3 separate regions of the Homo sapiens genome follow, and all the other regions are linked to region 1. The links are contacts of gene promoters, found by promoter capture Hi-C in blood cells and fetal thymus (Javierre and others, 2016). All regions are on one chromosome and are shown on one strand. The core of a region is centred on a gene start or on the middle of the fragment in contact, and the rest is flanking DNA. Distances in the headings are between cores, read along the strand shown.

The links. The method cuts DNA at HindIII sites, captures the fragments that hold promoters and counts their contacts. A CHiCAGO score of 5 or more calls a contact.
Region 2: a fragment that was not itself captured here is called in contact with the fragment with the promoter of TCF12 in region 1 in 2 of 17 cell types (naive B cells and total B cells); the score reaches 6.9 in naive B cells.
Region 3: a fragment that was not itself captured here is called in contact with the fragment with the promoter of TCF12 in region 1 in 2 of 17 cell types (total B cells and naive B cells); the score reaches 5.3 in total B cells.

Annotation. Positions count from the first base shown.
Region 1 is chr15:56,917,256-56,919,972 of GRCh38, forward strand. It overlaps TCF12 (transcription factor 12), which reads left to right and starts at 1,389. Exons shown (of 21, transcript NM_207037.2): 1 at 1,389-1,651; 2 at 2,637-2,717. The coding sequence starts at 2,659. TCF12-DT (TCF12 divergent transcript) reads right to left here and starts at 1,244. Exons shown (of 4, transcript NR_015419.2): 1 at 285-1,244. RefSeq lists silencers at 549-688, 1,209-1,338, 1,509-1,558, 1,649-1,938, 1,989-2,428. The HindIII fragment of the contact is 11,533 bases long and covers 1-2,717 here.
Region 2 is chr15:57,532,733-57,535,449 of GRCh38, forward strand. The region is part of intron 14 of CGNL1 (cingulin like 1); the gene reads left to right. Among named protein-coding and RNA genes, the nearest start is that of GCOM1, 58 kb to the right of the region's middle. The HindIII fragment of the contact is 7,611 bases long and covers 1-2,717 here.
Region 3 is chr15:57,513,615-57,516,331 of GRCh38, forward strand. All of the region lies in intron 8 of CGNL1 (cingulin like 1), which reads left to right. Among named protein-coding and RNA genes, the nearest start is that of GCOM1, 77 kb to the right of the region's middle. The HindIII fragment of the contact is 759 bases long and covers 999-1,757 here.

The DNA of each region.
Region 1 (2,717 bases), core at 139-2,638:
CATGAAAATATAGAGCCTAAAATATAGCCTGAAAATGTACTGAAAATATAGAGATTTCTTTGGATGATTATTTCCTAAATACACCTTAACAACTATTCACATAGCATTTGCATTGTATTAGGTTTTATAAGTAATCTAGATATGATTTAAAGTATATGGGGAAACACACCATTTTTATGTAAGAGACTTGAACATCTTAGAAAATCCAGAGTCTGGGAACCAATCCCACGGATATAGAGACAACTGTACTAACTACAGTAATGGCATATGGTAGCTGAATCTACCTCTCTTTCCATCCCAGTCCGGAATCCAAAGGCTCCTTCTTGCCATGTTGTCCTCGGGCGTTGGCTGCTTCCTCCCATTTGTTACTTTGGAAGTGTCTTCTTTCCTCAGTGTTTCTTCTGCGTGGGCCTTACCGGTCTTTACTGCACTCACTTACCTAAGAGGCAAAACAATGGCTGCCATTCAAGAAAATCTCACTTCAGCCCAGAATCGAAGAACTGGGGCTTATTTTGTCTTCTTTCTACTCTGGGGCTTCTCTGAGGCCAAGTTCAGAACTTGTGCACAAGACAGTGGCTGTGTGACAGAGCCACCCAGGGCTGTCTCCGTTAGATGAAGAGACTGGCTTGATCCATTCCCAAGAACTAGTCCCACGTGCAGTTCGGTTGCTCCGAATGGGATTTGGGTGCGAGGGGCTGACTGGAGATGTGGGGTCTGGGTGAGTGGGGTATTTGAGAACCTGAAGCTCACAAGGCTTTGTCTGGTTTGAGGTACGTTTTGCCCTTTCTCCCGCATTCGGCTCTGCATCGAATCTGACCGGCCGCGCCTACTCTCGGAACGGCCGAGGAGGATGGGTCTCCCGTCTCCACACGCGCGGTGTCTGCGCCGACTGCAGCCCTCCTGGACGGGAGCCTCTGGGCCCAGCTTAGGGTGGCGTCCAGCGTGACCTACTCGGGAATGGCAGCCTTCAGTGTCCTGCGGCCTCGGGTTCCGGGAAGCTCGGGGACCTGGGCAGCGGATCCAGATGCTTCCACAGCTGTGTCTCCGTCGCTCCGCTTCGGGGGCCGAGAACCAGCAAGACCAACGCGAGGAGGCGCCACGGTACCTGCCACCCCGCTCCCAGGAGGCCCGGACGAGGCTTCGTCGGCGAGCGGTCGGGGCCTGCTTCTCGAGGTGCCTGCGAGCGCCTCATGCCCCTCCCCACCGGCCCCAACTCCGTCCCGCCTCACCCGACCGCGGGCTTTGTCCACCCGCCGCGGTGCGGCTCCTCCCAGTCCCCGACAGCTCCTCCCCGCCCCCTCTGCCGGCCCCACTTCCTAGGCGGCGGAGCGGGTCGGGGAGGGAAGGGTTAACCCGCGGCTCTTCCCGGCGCGGAGGGATCCGGAGGCGAGCCGAGCGCGGTGGTGAGGCCGCCTCAGCGAAAAAAATGTCCGCCTGAAGAGACCCACAAGTTCTATTCGGGGGGACCGACAGCCCGCCCCGGGAGGAAGGGGCGGCCAGGCCCGAAAGCCGCCTCCCCCTCCCAGACCCGAGAGCTCGTGCGGGGCAAAGTGAACCGAGCCGCTGGGCGGTGCAAGGGGAAGCCCAAGCCCGTTCTCCCGGCCAAAGTGAACTTTAATCGGGGTGGTTGGATGCGGAGACGGGGCGGCAGGTAATTGCGGGCTAGCGAGCGGGAGTGGGGCGGCGCGGCGGGGCTGGGGGCTGCGGGGCGCCGCCGCGTCCCTGCCGGAGTGGGGGCGCCCCCGTCCCCCGCCTCAACTCCGCGCCCCTTTGTACAGCGCGAAACCCGGGGTCCCCTCCAAGTTGGGGAGCGGAGTGGGGGCGGAGGCTCGAGTCGCGGGCGCTCAGGCCCGCTGGCGGCGCGCTCGGCCTGTGCGCCCCGTTCGGTGCCCGACTCGGGCCGGCGCCCAGGCTCCGGGGCGCGCGGGAGATCGGGCGGCTTCGGCCGCGGAGCCAGGCTCATTGTTCGGCAGGTCCGGGGCAGGGCAGCAAAAGTGGGAGGAGGCCGAGCCTGGGGAGGAGGACGCCGGCCGAGAGCGAGACTAGTTGTCGGGGTTTCTGTTTTCTGTTTAAAAACGCCCCTTGGATGAGCTGGGGGTGCTTTCCGACCTCCTGGGCCCGCCGGGGACGTCCGGGCGGCGGCGGCCGCAGACGCGGGCCTGCGAGCGGCGCGTTCCCTGCAACTTGTCAGTTCTATTGTTGCCGAGCGAGTGAGTCACTTCGCATCTCCGCTCGCCGCCGCTCCGCTCGCTGGACGCCGAATTGCCCCTCACCCCGCTCCTCGAGACCCCAGCCGCGGCCGGGCCCGGCGCGCGGAGCACCCGGCGGCGGCGCGGAGCAGGGGGCGCCGAGGAGGTGGCAGAGACTGGCTCGGAAACTTGGGGGAGAGGCGGCGAGTTGCGGGAGCCGCCGCGTCGATCTCGGGCCGCGGCGAGGAACGCGTGGATTCCGGGACCCGGCGCGGGCACTGAGCCCTCCCGCCCCTTGCTCGCGCCGCGGTGGGAGCGAGTCGGGGTCCTGGAAGTCATCCCGGCGCCCCCAGCGCTCTTGCGTAATCTTCCCCAGTACCTCTCTCTGTTCCCTCACACACTTTGGGCCTCGGTGGTCTCTCGCTGAGCCCGTTTCCTCTGCCCTAGGACCTGCTAGAAGTGGCCGAAGATGAATCCCCAGCAACAACGCATGGCCGCTATAGGGACCGACAAGGAGCTGAGCGACCT
Region 2 (2,717 bases), core at 127-2,626, 620 kb after region 1:
TTCTGTTGCACCTAACATGGTGCTGGCTACCACATTCCACACACTTGCTTGTTGAACTAATGACCCTTAGAGCCTCAGCCCTAAAAGGCACTTTTCCCTCTATGGCCAATAGATTGTTATTCATAACCACTTGGGAAACTTCCACTTTCTGCCTTATGTTTTTGTCTTCTTTTTCAAATCTTCCCTATTCCAAAGGGCACTTTCCTCTGGTCTCTTCTGCTTATTCACATGGACTTCCCTTTCCTCGGTTCAGGGTGACCAAGAATTGGAAGTTCCAGAGCTTGGGGATAGCACCTTATGAGCAGGCAGCCCTGCTCAAAGTAGAACGTGAATCCCTGGCTGCTTTTCCGTATTCTTTTAGGTCCCTGTTGATAGATTTCTTTGCAAACAAGTGGGATACTCATGCTCCTTTGCTCCTGAGAGTGAAGAAAGTTGCAACCCAGCTGTGTTCCCTCCACCCTCCTCATGGAGAGTGGGTTCTGTCTGCGTGTTCCCAGGCTATGATTTATCTGGAGCTGCAACAGCTTATCAGGCCAGAGCTGCACAGGTTTAGAGAGGGACCTTCCTGAAAATCAGAGGCCCAGATAGAGAGCTCAACCTTGACATCTCCTCTACTGCCCGCCAGGGTTGTTACTGAAGACTTTGTTTTCTAAGTTCTCTCACTGGAATAAAAGCTGTTTTGTGATGAGCCCCTGCCAGCCTGGCTAAGTAGCGACGTTCCCCCCAGACATGTCAGGATCCGCTAAACATTCACAATGACAAAGGATGTGACCATGGATTTGTTTTGCCAGCGCTTCTTGTGGCTTATGCTAAGAGGAATAGTGGGAAAGCCTGTCATCCTATCAGTAATGAGGCCGTTACAACAGACCTTCAGTTCCATGTTTATATCAGAAACAAAACACAGACATTGAACCAGAACGTGTCTGCTTCCCTTAGCTCAGCTGACAGCCCAACACTGACAGAACTGATCATGCAGAGATCTGGTCCCAGAATTGCTCTGGACACTTCTTTTTCCTTTCAACTGAGCACTTGGATCATGGGGAATAGAACTGCTGTCCATGATGTGGTCAAGGCTAAAAATATTTCCACTAAGCCAAGAACTTGATGTCAGTTTAGGGGGGAAGTTAAGGGAACCAAGGACTTGAAGTAAGTCCAGGGAGGAAGTTAAGGGAACTCACTTGGTCTGCTGGGGAGAGCAGTGGGCTGGCAGTCCCAGTCCTGGCTCCTGCATTAGCCTCATTTACCTCTGGGAGAGTCCCAGCCTCTCTGAGCTCAGTCTCTAAAATCTATCAAAAGGAAGTCATTGATCCAGGTGATCTCTGAAGGCTCTTCTGAATTCTAACATTGCAATGCTGCAAGAAGGTTTCATACATCCAGAAGCGTCTGACTCACCCTTTACTTTCCCCCAATTCTCTCCCTGTATCTGAGTTACATGCCTAAAAAGATGAGTTCCACCAATGTCTATAACCTCTTTCCCTACCAGCTCTCTTTCCCTCTTCTGTTTTCTTTCTTCTCACTGCATCATCTGAGATAGGGAGGGTATAGCCTGGTGTTTGTTATAAGTGGAGAAATTGAGCACATTCACATGGACGTAGGAATTGGTAAGCCAATGAAACAGAAACGCTGATGTCTCCTGATTGTGTTCTGAGAGCTTCTCTTCTGGCCTTTGCTGCCTCCTGACTTGTGAGGGAGGGCAGAGAAATGGGTGGGCCAAATACCCGCCTCCCTGGAAAGCATCTCATTCTCATTCAAAGTTGAGGTTGAGCCAAGGCTTATTTCCTGCCTCTTGAAATGAAGGCTCTCTGGGGAGGGCCTTGGGTATAGACAGATGGGCCCTGATTCTGAGCTCTTCTGGTCCACTTAGATTAACTTCTAGGGCCGTGTGCCTGTGCTTTCCTGCTGAAATCAAAGCCAGAAAAGGGAAACTTCAAAACGTAAGGCCGCTTTTCCTCTCCCCCATCAAATGCTGACCTTATGACATCTCCTTAACAAGGACATCTCCTAAAAACAGGAAAGGGTGCTTGTTATCTTGAACCCAAGTAATAACATCGGCCCTGCCTTCCTAGCAAACTGCTACTAGGCACTGAAAAGAGAATGCATGGGATATTTTAGTTTGGTGATCTTGTTCTCTTTAAATTAAAAGGTTCAAACTTAACAGCTTTCTCCTTAAACTCTGAATTCTCACAAGCTCCTTTGCGGAATCTTTGCTTCCCCCAAACATCTCCCACTAGTCTTAGTGATGGGACTTAAGTGAATAAGCCACAAAAAAGGTTTTCCAGCAATATTAGTGAATGGCCAACCCCTCTCATAGACTGTTAGATCTGGCAAGGACCTCAGAGTCCAACTCTCCCCACTTCACTGTAATGGATGAGAGATTTGAGGCCCAGAGTCACCTGGTGATTTGACCACAGTCATGCAGGCAATTGACTGCAGAGCTGGGCTTAGGTCTCAATTTCCAAGGCAGTGCTCTATCTACCCGTGCCTGCAAAATATGATGAATACCTGCTGTGTGCATGGCATTGCAGTAAAGCTCCAAGAGGACCAGAAATGGTCCCTGACCTTGAGTTGCTACAGTTTGTTTGAGGAGATGGGTCAGACCTAAAAAATTGATAACTAACAATAGAAAACAGTGGATACTAAATGCCAAGTAAAAGATTCAAGCAGCTAATGAGGGAAAGACCATTGTTGCAAGAGTGAGTGTGGAAGAATTACTGGAA
Region 3 (2,717 bases), core at 128-2,627, 600 kb after region 1:
GGTTCAAGCGATTCTCCTGCCTCAGCCTCCTGAGTAGCTGGGATTACAGGCACCTGCTACCATGCCTGGCTAATTTTTTGTATTTTTAGTAAAGATGCGGTTTCACCATGTTGGCCAGGCTGGTCTCAAACTCCTGACCTCAGGTGATCTGCCCGCCTCGGCCTCCCAAAGTGCTGGGATTACAGGCTTGAGTCACTGTGCCCGGTCCCTTGTTTTTATTTCTCTTAGCTATATAGCAAGGAGTGAAATTGCTAGGTCCTACCGTAACTCTGTGTAACATTTTGAGGAACTGGCAAACTGTTTTCCAAAGTAGCTGCACCATTTTACATTCCTACCAGCAATGTATAAGTGGTCTAATTCCTCTAAACTCTCCCCAATACTTGTTATTATCTTTCTTTTTTATTATAGCTATCCTAGTGGATGTGGAGTGGTATCTCATTATGGTTTTAATTTGCATTTCCCTAATGACTAATGATGTTGAATATGTTTTCATATGCATGTTGGATTTTATATACTGTTCGGATCCTTTCCCCATTGTTTATTTATTTATTTTTTGAGATGGAGTCTTGCTCTGTCACCCAAGTTGGAGTGCAGTGGTCCCATCTCGGCTCACTGCAATCTCTGCCTCCCGAGTTCAAACAATTCTCTCGCCTCAGCATCCCAATTAGCTGGGATTACAGGTGTGCACCACCACACCTGGCTGATTTTTGTATTTTTAGTAGAGATGGGGTTTTATCATGTTGGCCAGGCTGGTCTTGAACTTCTGACCACAAGTGATCCGCCTGCCTGGGCCTCTTAAAGTGCAGAGACTATGACGTAACCCACCGCACCTGGCCCCATTTTTAAGTCTTTTTGTTACTGAGTTAAAGAATCATTTATATATTCTGGATATGAGTCCTTCATTAGATATATGACTTTTATTTCCTTTCATTCTGGTCGTTGTCTTTTGACTTTCTTGGTGGCATCATTTGCAGCACAAAAGTTTTAAATTTTGAAGAAGCTTAATTTATCTGTTCGTTCTTTTGTCACTTGTACTTTTGGTGTTGTAGCTAAGTAGCCTTTGCCTAACCCAAGGTCACAAATACTTGTTTCTGTGTTTTAAGAGTTTTATAGTTTTAGATCCTACATTTGGGCCTATGATCCATTTTGAGTTAACTTTTGTGTATGGTATGAGGAAGATGTCTAACTTCATTTCTTTTTCATGTGGATATCCAGTTGTAGTGGCACCATTTGTTGAAGGCTATTCTTTCCCCCATTGAATTGTCTTGGCACCCTTGTTGAAAAGCAGTTGGCTATACATGTAGGGGTTTATGTCTGAACTCCCAATTCTGTTTCATTGATTTATATGCCTTCCCTCATGCCAGTACTGCCCTGTCTTGATAACTGTAACTTTGTCTCACATGTTAATAGGAGAGTTAGGGCAGAAGTGGGCAATCTAGACTTTTTCTTTCCCTGGTCTGACCAGTTACTAGATTCTTTAGATCCTTCCTCAAGTTTTCAACCACACTTTATTTCTCCTCTGTATATTTTTGTGACATGTCCTCTTGCTGGTTTCATTAGGAGACGATATCCTGATAGACCTGAGAAGTCTCAGCTGTCTGACACCTTAGTTTTCTCCTAGCAACGCCAGCTAACTTCATTCTAACTCAGTTGCTTGGCTCCGATGGGCTTTCTCTGTTGTATAGAATTAAACCTTTGGGCCATGAAAGGATGCTCTGGTTCCTGAAATTCTCTAACTGGTTAGGTTCAGGATAATAAGCTTACTGTACTGTTAAGAGAAGTAAAGATCTTTCCAACAGGCTATATAAGTGAGCAGTTCTAGCAGATACTTCTCCCACATGGTCGGTGATACAGCCTTTAAAAGCCTAACCTTGTCCTCCCTGGGCCTTTCTTTTATCGCAGGCGTCTGTAGCATTGTGTTGTAGGCATGAGATTTGCTGATATTGGCATCTTTGTAGTAGTGGAGAAATGGAGGACAGGTAAGAGATCTGCCTGGAGAGGTGGAATGTGGGGCAGGACCATTTCCCATCACTTCAAATTGCTAAACCGAAGAATACAAAGCCCCTGTGACCTCTGGAATCAACAATAACCACCCTGAGATTGTCATTCCTTTCTGTTGTGGATTGTGTGCAGCATACCTAGAGCTTACACTGTGAACTGTATCCTAATTTAAGCTAATTTAAATTTCTGTTTTATATTGGACATGAAAAAAATCTGTACTCCGAAGCTGCCCTTCCTCAAGAGCTTCTATTAAAGACCCTGGGCCGGGTGTGGTGGCTCACACCTGTAATCCCAGCACTTTGGGAGGCCGAGGCAGACAGATGATGAGCTCAGGAGATCGAGACCATCCTGGCTAACATGGTGAAACCCCGTCTCTACTAAAAATATAAAAAAATTAGCCAGGCGTGGTGGCGGGCGCCTGTAGTCCCAGCTACTCGGGAGGCTGAAGCAGGAGAATGGTGTGAACCCAGGAGGCGGAGCTTGCAGTGAGCCGACATCGCGCCACTGCACTCCAGCCTGGGGGACAGAGCGAGACTCTGTCTCAAAAAAAAAAAAAAAAAAAAAAAGAAAGAAAAAGAGACCCTGCCCATGCAAATGGGGCAGGGAAGTGGACATGTCAGAAAGCGAGGGTTATGAGGACAGGTTCTGGATTCAGCCTGCCCGAATGCAGTTCCTCCTAAGTGATCTTGGACAAGTTACTTAAACTATCCAAGTGT